Regions from separate parts of the Homo sapiens genome. Here region 2 is linked to region 1. Evidence: promoter capture Hi-C in human tissues and cell types (Jung and others, 2019). All regions are on one chromosome and are shown on one strand. Each heading gives the region's core, a stretch centred on a gene start or on the middle of the fragment in contact. The rest is flanking DNA. Distances are from core to core; before and after follow the strand shown. Region 1 holds the start of SLC25A13 (solute carrier family 25 member 13). Region 2 has its middle 13 kb from the start of SDHAF3.

The links. Contacts are between HindIII fragments. The study calls those that stand out against the background at their distance.
Region 2: a contact is called between a fragment that was not itself captured here and the fragment with the promoter of SLC25A13 in region 1, in 1 of the 25 tissues and cell types used here (lymphoblastoid cells).

Annotation. Positions count from the first base shown.
Region 1 is chr7:96,320,319-96,325,242 of GRCh38, reverse strand. SLC25A13 (solute carrier family 25 member 13) reads left to right here and starts at 3,145. Exons shown (of 18, transcript NM_014251.3): 1 at 3,145-3,301. The coding sequence starts at 3,287. RefSeq lists a silencer at 3,010-3,349. The HindIII fragment of the contact is 12,396 bases long and covers 1-4,924 here.
Region 2 is chr7:97,102,806-97,107,280 of GRCh38, reverse strand. No RefSeq gene overlaps it. Among named protein-coding and RNA genes, the nearest start is that of SDHAF3, 13 kb to the left of the region's middle. The HindIII fragment of the contact is 9,050 bases long and covers 1-4,475 here.

The DNA of each region.
Region 1 (4,924 bases), core at 1,896-4,395:
GACCCTGTCTCAAGAAATACAAAAACAAAAAATAAAGTAAAATAAATATGTCTTGATACACACACATAAGCACAGCAAGACATGAAAAAATACAGTAGAATGTTAACAATGGCTAACTCTATTGATAGGATTATCAGTGATTTTTTGGCCATTACTATGATTTTCTGAATTTTCAAAAATGTCAAGAAGAAGTATAATGGACTTTTTCTATTAAAAAAATTAATGGAATATTGTTCAACCTTGAAGAGGAAGGAAATTCTGACACATGCTATATAACATGTATGAAGGTTGAAGACATTATGCTACAAAACACAAATACCATATGATTCCATTTATTAGGTACCTAGAGTAGTCAGATTTATAGGAGCAAAGTAGAATGGTGGTTGTCAGGGGGTTGGGAGATGGAGTGGTTGTTTAATGAGTACAGAGTTTCAGCTTTGCAAGATGAAAAGAGTTCTGGAGATTGGCTGCACAACAATGTGAAAGTATTTCACTACTAAACTGTACATTTCAAAATGGTCAAGATGGTACATTTTATGTATATTTTATTACATTAAAAATTTTTTGTTTCATTTACATTATAAAAGGAGAGCTTTAATGATGCCCTTAAAAATAAATACGTGGTACATGATGTAATTTTGTTCTTTACATGAGGTTGTATTTTCTCACCTCCTTTTACACTCCCCTTGTGGCAGCTGGGGCCATCCTCCACAGGAGCTTCAGACTTGTCCCCTTGTCATAATTTTCTCTAACAATTCTCCTGGTTTTCCTTTTGTCTTTTTTTTTTTTTTACTTTTTGCTGATCTTTCTTCTCTGCCTATGAACATGGTCAAGTCTTCTGGGCTTTGTTGAACCTTTTGAGAGTAGGTTAAATAGTTGCTTCTTTCTGTAATGCTTCTTTCTTAAGCTTCTACAACATAATTTGTATGTTGGACATACATTCTCCTTACAGACAGACTCACACACCTCAAAACACTCCTCTTGAATTACCAATCTCAGGTGTTTTTCCAGACACCCATACCACAAGTCTATGTGCAATATGGCACAACTCCCTTTTTCCGTCCCAACCCCACTAATTTTACCTTCTATGTATTCCTCTAGTCCTAGCCCATCCCCAGCCTGTCTCGTCTGGACATCCTGGTAGTTCAGTTGGAACCCATCCTCCATACTGCAAGCAGTGTTTTAGTCCATTTTGTGTTGCTGTAAGGGAATTCCTGAGACTAGAAGAACAGGACGGAAATGTATTTCTCACAGTTCTAGACGCTAGGAAGTCCAAGATCAAAGTGCTGGCAGGTTACGGCCTGGTTTCTCTGCTTCCAAGATGGCTCTTTGAATGCTGTGTCCTTCAAAGGTGAGGAATGCTATGTTCTTATATGGCAAAAGAGCAGAAGAGCAAGAGAGAGTGAACCCACTCCCCAAACCTCTTTTTATGGCAGCATTAATCCATTTATGAGGGCAGAGCCCTTGTGATGAAAATACCTCCCCAAGGACCCAACCTTCCAACACTGATGCATTAGAGATTGTATCCAACACATCAATTTTGGGGGGCACATTCAGACCATAGAGAGATCTTTCTATATCGAAAACCTAGTCATGCTGCTTCCTGACTTAAAACCCTTCAGTTAAGGTGCATACCCTTCAGCAAGGCGCCTAAGACCCACCATGACACAGCCCCTACCTGCTGGGCCAGACTCCTTCCACTAGTCGTGCCACTGCCCCAATCCCATAGCTCAAGATCAAGTTACCTTTTGATATGGTTTGACCGTGTCACTACCCAAATCTCATCTTAAATTGTAGTTCCCATAATCCCCACATGTCATGGGAAGGACCCGGTGAGAGACAACGGAATCATGGGGGCGGTTACTCCCATGCTGTTCTTGTGATAGTGAGTTCTTATGAGATCTGATGGTTTTACAAGGGGCTTTCCCCCCTTTGCTTGGCACTCATTCTCTCTCCTGCAACCCTGTAAAGAGGTGCCTTCCACCACAACTGTAAGTTTCCTGAGGTCTCCCAAACCATGCGAAACTGAGTCAATTAAATCTTTTGGTTTATAAATTACCCAGTCTCAGGTATTTCTTCATAGTGGCATGAGAATTCTCAGTATTCTTATTGAGCCCTGGGAACAGTCTGCTGCCTTAACAGGTTATACTGAAGTAAACATTTATGTGTCTCTTTCCCAATAGCCCTGAAGCTGTTTAACGGTTGGAACCAGTTCTTAAGTCATTTCGGGGTTTCCAGCACCAAGCACAGTGCCTAGCACATAGTAGGAAGGCACTCAATCAACGTTAATGAATTAAACTGATTAGTAATAAGTGCTTTTTGCTGCCATATTACATCCACAACCTACAATACATTAAAAGTCCTTTTCCCTGATCACCACTGTCTTATAAATTTTGATTACAAGGACAGAAGAATGAAATCCTGATGAAGAGGAGTAAGGCCTGGAGGTCATATAAGCAAATTTTCATTAAAATGCTTGTTTATTTATTTTAGTAGGGCCTATTTGGGGGAAGTCTTTTGACCCGGGCCTTTTGACTTCTACCGTTTTAACAGGTAGGGCTGAAATGGAGTAGTTTCATGAATATACGTTCTGCACTACATTCACTTGTTGGGTTCTTAAGAGTTCACCGATTTTGATCTAAAAGTAGGCGTGCCAGCAATATTTGCAATCTCGCCTTCTAAGTCAATGCTTTTGGATCAAAGTCTTTTTGGATCCAGTGTAAAGTGGAGCTCCTTCAAAGGGAACGCACAGGGGAAAAAATATCCAGCAAAGTATGTGTCCTAGTGGAGTTCTCAACTTCCCCAGGCCGTGCACCATCTGTCGTTACTTGCCCCTCCCATCGGTCCGAGGGCCCAGTAGCCCCTGGTATCAGCAGAAGCCAGCAGCTTCCCTGGTGGGGCCACCTGCCCTCAGGTGACGGGCTTGCACACGGCCAAGTTACCTCTGCCCACGCCGCAGAGGCCGCCGCTGCTGGACAGCGCAGCGGGGTCACGTGTCCCTGTCCAGCCACTGCCCCAGGATCTGAGCCCTCCCCGGCTGCAGGGCAGAGGCCGCTGGATCACGCGCACCCCGGCGGCCAAGGCTGGGCCCAGCCAATGGGCGGGCAGCATCCACATGACCCGCGCCGGCGGGAGGGCGTGGGGAGGCAGGCCAGGAACGCACGCTGCCTGGCCGTATCGCCGCCCCCACCGCCGCCGCCGCCGGGACTAGAAGTGAGCCGCCCGGGTCCCAAACGCCAGCCAGCCAGTCAGTGGGTCCCGCAGTCGCCCGCAACCGGGGCGAATCATGGCGGCCGCCAAGGTAACCGCGGGCCCGAGGCCGGGGGGAGCGCGCCTGCCGGATCAGCCTGGGGGTGCGAGAGGCTCGGGCGCTCACGTGTCTGGGTTGGTGCCACAGGCGGAGCAAAATGGGGTGCCGGGCAGCCGTTCCACCTTGCGGCTGCTGGAGGGAGGGGGCCACTCCTCCCGGGCAGCACAGGCGGTCGGTGCAGAGACCGAGGCCCGACCTCGCAGCGGAAACTTTGTGGGCCGGACACTCCCACTTGGCCGGGGAGGGAAGTTGGTGCCTGACGGGGCTGAGCCAGGGCCGACGAGGAGGAGCGGGCGCGACTGGGGCCTGGTGCACCCTGGGCCGGCAAGCGCTGGGGGTCCTCTCTACCTTCCCAGCGCGCTCCTGCTCCTGACCCCGCTGGTTGTTGACTCCGGCTTCTTCCAGGGGCCAGAGCCCGGGCTGAAGCCTGATCCTATTACGTTTCAAGGGCTCCGCCCTCCCGCGGGTGGGGAAGTTACTTTGACTTCCGTTTTGGAAACTGCCTAGGAGACTTGGTCTGCGCCTTTGTGAATAAAAAGTCCAGGGACTCTCCCCCTCCCCGCTTTCCCATCATTCCCATCTTCCCCCTCCCTCTCTCCATCTGACAACACTTAGATACCCGCCTCGGAGCATTTGAGAGGCTTCTTTTTGGGAACGATGAAACAGATTGTCCTGGGAGCCTGTCACTCCTGTGAAGTTGTACTTGAAAGGGGTTCTGTGTAATGTGAATCATTCACTAACCCAGAGGAAAGGCAACTCCAACACTTGACCTTTCCTCTTTCACCATTTCTTGAAACCTGGACACCATTTCAGTCTCTTTGGACTGCATTTCAACTTCTCTGGCAGAATACCATATTTAGTCCCAATCACTTGAATCATTTGGAATTTATTGCTTTTAATTTAAGTTCACGAAGGCAGCCCTCTAATCAAGCCTATACAACTTCTTAGCTCATTTTAAGTGCAGTGAACTTAAATATACCTAACATTTCAAACATTTGTCCTTAATCAAAACTCTGTGATAACCCTCAAGAGGAAAACATGGCCAACACATCATATTCCTATTTATTCAAGCAAACTAATCACATTTGCAATGGAAATTGTAAGCAGACAAATATATTTAAATGCTGTTCTATGACTTAAGTCTCTCCAGGCTCCCCAAATCCGTAGGCTTCTTCATGTTGTTAGTTTCTGTGGTCTAAGTGGCATTTCTCTTTTCTGTAATTACTCTGAGTTTCATCCTTAGGAAAGTACTCTGGGTGTGTGGGCTCATGTATGTTTGCATATGAACACACAGGTGTGCGTGTGTATATCTATCTATAACTTTTCAGCAGTTTCTCTGAGCATCACTAGGATTCAATTTTGGAAGCTGCCTTAACCCTTTCAAGCCCAATAGCCCTTGACCTTTTTTTTGCATTAAATTTGCATGCAACCAAGGTACAAGGCTTGGTATGAACTAATTCCCTAGAGTAGGTGGGACTAGGTACCCATTCTTTACTGTTAGTTTTATATCTGCAGGTAATGTAAATACTTTTACTTTATTAGGAGATAAGGTAATTGAGGAACATAAATTGAGACGTGTGCATAGAAATGGAGTATAAGACTTGAGTAATATTA
Region 2 (4,475 bases), core at 1,534-4,033, 780 kb before region 1:
CTTAAAAGGCACACAAAGTAGTTCACCATTTACAGAGTAGGAAATGAGGAGTTACTGGGAGATGTGAGTCAAGAGAATTGGTGAAAGCAGTCTTTTAAAAACAATCTGGCAGCCATGTGCAAAATAGACTATTGAATGAATAAATACCTTCATTTAAACAAAGGGCCTTGCATGAATCCAGGATGACAACATGCCTGAAGAACATGATTAACTCAACTGTCTGCACTTGAGCCAAAGAAGACAGCAAGAGATTTCCAGGAGTTCATAACACATAGAGGCAGGCAGAGCTGTGGGAGCATGGGCATGAGACTATGAAGGACATTGGATTTAAGGACTGACCGGATATGAGGAAATGGAAAAAAAGCTGAATCTAAGAGGTTTTCATGTTTTCCTTTGTGGATGTATAATTGAAGACAGAAAGTCCGGAGAGAAAACTGCTTGTGGAAATGCATTTTATTTTAATCACACTGAGTTTGAATGGGGCAGCCTACCCTACATGATGCATTGAAAATTTACCTAATAGTGTCAGTGCAGTTCCTTTAATCGTCTAAGTCAGTGGCTCTCAACATCTGCTGTATATTACATTCACCTGTGAAACTGGTAAAAAAAAAAAATAATAAAATACTGTTTCTTAGGCCTCATTCTAAACTGCTTGAATGAGGCCTCAATTCAAACCTCCAAGGGTGGGCTGAGACATTGATATTGCTTAGAAGCTCCAGGCAAAGTGATTCTAATGTGCAGCCAGGATTCAGAACCAGTGATCTAAATTCCCATCTTGGAGACATTTGAGTTCTGGGAAAGTACACAAGATATTACGGCACTGTGTTAAAAACTAATTATTAAATGTTCAGCCTTTTCTGTACTAAAGAGTCCTTGCAACAATGGGGGAAAATATTGTTATATAGTTAAGAATATTTTAAACCGTAAAAGTGAAACTTCTCTCTGAGGAGGAGAATGTAAAGTGAAAACAGTAAAAACATAACTTTGAGTTATATCCACATTTATAAAGTAGGGGGAGGTGATTATAATGTCATGATCTGAAGAGCACAGCCCAGAATCTTTCCACATGCCATATCCGCAATACCACATGTTTCTCCAGGAAAATGATTTAACTTTTCCAGATAACTAATGAACATTTGGAATACAGCTTACTTATACAATCATCTCTTGATATATATGGGGAATTGGTTCCAGTGCTTCTCCTCTGCTCCCCAGGTACCAAAATCTGCAGATGCTCAAGTATATGATAAAAAATGGCATAGTTATTTGCAAATAACCTATACACATCCTCCCGTATATCTTAAATAATCTCTAGATTACTTATAATACCTAATACAATATAAATAGTTGTTATACTATATTGTTTAGGGAATAATGACAAAGAAAAGTCTGTATATGTCAGTACAGGTGCAATTGTTTTTCTGAACATTTTTGATCCTGAGTTGGTTAAATCTGTGATGCAGAACGCATGGATATGAAGGGCTGACTGTACAATGTTGGCACTCTTAATAAAGATCCATAAAATCTCCATTATCTATATCTTCTTCCTTCCTACTCTCCTTCAACCCAAACTTTCCACCAGAACTCTTGATTATATCCCAACTCTTCTGAGGAGTGTCTTCATAACCCCTTGTTCTTTCTCTCACAGGCATTTTCAATTATTTTCTTCATGATATTATTTCATTGAGCTCACAAACACTCACGAGAATACTTCAGGTTAAAAGAAAATCTCTCTATTCTGCCTCCCCTTTAAGCGACCATCCTGTTACTCTGCTTTTTTTCATTGACTTGAAAATATACATTCCTATTCCCACTTTCTCCATCTCCATACCCATTCCTCATTTAATCCCCTGCCTCCTCTTTTTTTTGAGACTGAGTCTGGCTTTGTCACCCAGGCTGGAGTGCAGTTGTGTGATATTGGCTCACTGCAACCTCCACCTCCCCAGGTTCAAGCGATTCTCCTGCCTCAGCCTCCCAAGTAGCTGGGATTGCAGGCTAATTTTTGTATTTTTAGTAGAGATGGGGTTTCACCATATTGGCCAGGCTGGTCCAGAACTCCTGACCTCAAGTGATCCACCCGCCTCAGCCTCCCAGTGTTGGGATTACAGGCCTTGAGCCACCACGCCCAGCCCATTTGACCCCTTTTAACCTGGTGTTGGCCTCACTATTCTTCTGAAATCTCTTTCTTCAAAGTCACTAGTCATTTGCTTCTGTTCACACTCCTACCCCCTCCTGACTTCCTAGAAGTCTTTGCATCTTTGCCTTCCACACATTTGTGCTGCCCAGGCGATCCCACCTTCAGGACCCCACTCCCTCTGTCTTCTTAACTGGCTGTAGTTCTTCCAGCCCACAAATGTGAACAAGTGCGAAGGCTCAATCCAAACATGACTCCCTGTCAGCGCTCTTGTCCCGGCCAGCTGTCCCCAGCAATTACTGATGCTCTGCTGCCCCCGCCTGGCCAAGCCCATTCTAACCACTTCAAAGGCCTCACTGGACCCTTATCTGGAAAACCGCCAGCATAGCTTCTCAAAAAGCTGTTCCAAGCCTCATACACACACCTCTGACCTCTCCACAGTTAAGAGTCTTGCTCTCTATATAACCACAGGATAAGTCCAAACTGGGTGTCCTGTCATCCTTTCAGAGTCTCTGTTCCAAGCTAAACTCATCAGTTTTCTCCAAAGACTTTTCTCTCTCCACGCATCTGTGACATCTTTCCTTCTTTTGATACATGTCATTGTCGAGGAATCCTTGTTTTGACGCTACTTTTGTAAATCAGTTGCTTTTTCTCCTTGCCATTGCCCCACCTGCCTAGACTCTGTATCTCTCAGTTGAAGGATTGCAACAGTCTTCTAATTGCATTTCCTTTCTTTAGTTTTTTTTCTACCTCCAATTAATAGGACATAACATATTCAAATTGATCTTTTTAAAACATGGCTTCACTCAGGTGTCTCCCACAGCCCACCATCTTCCAAAGCTTTCCCACTGTCCTCAGAGTACAACCTGTGCCCCCAGGATATAAAGTCACATTGTAATCAAAGGCAACTGGCAGCCACACTATTACTAACTCACTTTTTCATAGCACTGTACTTTCATAGTACATAGCACTCTTAAAATTGAAGGAAAACAATCTAAATAATTCAGACAAAGATATCAACTTCATAAGGCCATTGTCATTTAACCTACAGAAAGCAAAAGTCAGTAAATATATAAACAAATGCAAAAAAATTGACAAGGGACATTATCTCCCTTCTCTCTGTCCTCCTCAAATTAGAATGAATTTACAGTATCTATTCTGTTTTGTTGTTGTTGTTTATTTCAGCAGTTTTGGGGGAACAAATGGTGTTTGGTTGCACAGAAAAGTTCTTTAGTGGTGATTTCTGAGATTTGGCGCACCCATCACCCGAGCAGTGTACACTGTACGCAATGTGTAGTCTTTTATCCCTCACCCTCCTCCCACCCCTCCGCTCAAGTACCCAAAGTCCATTATATCATTCTTATGCCTTTGCATCCTCATAGCTTAGCTCTCACTTATAAGTAAGAACATATGATGTTTGGTTTTCCATTCCTGAGTTACTTCACTTAGATAATGATCACCAACTCCATCCAAGTTGCTGCGAATGCCTTTATTTTGTTCCTTTTTATGGCTGAGTAGTATTCCATGGAATACTATATATTCCATGGAATACTATATATGTTATGTCCTATTAATTGGAGGTAGAAAAAAAACTAAAGAAAGGAAATGCAATTAGAAGACTGTTGCAATCCTTTAACTGAGAGATACAGAGTCTAAGCAGGTGGGGCAATGGCAAGGAGAAAAAGCAACTGATTTACAAAAGAAGTGTCAAAACAAGGATTCCTTGACAATGACATATATCAAGAGAAAGAAATATGTCACAGATACATGGAGAGAGAAAAGTCTTTGGAGAAAACTGATGTCATTTATATATATATATAACATATATATATAAAACATATATATATAAAACATATATATATAAAACATATATATATAACATATATATGTAATATAATACCATGGTGTGTGTGTGTGTGTGTGTGTGTGTGTATGTATATATATATATACACACCACAGTTTCTTTATCCACTCATTGATTGAAGGGCATTTGGGCTGGTTCTATATTTTTGCAATTGCAGATTGCGCTGCTATAAACATGCATGAGCAAGTGTCTTTTTTGGATGATGACTTCTGTTCCTCTGGGTAGATACTCAGTAGTAGGATTGCTGGATCAAGTGGTAGTTCTACTTTTAGTTCTTTAAGGACTCTCCATACTGTTTTCCATAGGGGTTGTACTAGTTCACAGTCCCAACAGCAATGTAAAAGTGCTCCTTTTTACTACATCCATGCCAACATCTATGGCCATTCTTGCAGAAGTAAGGTGGTTTTGCACTGCAGTTTCGATTTGCGTTTCCCTGATCGTTAGTGATGTTGAGCATTTTTTCATGTTTGTTGGCCA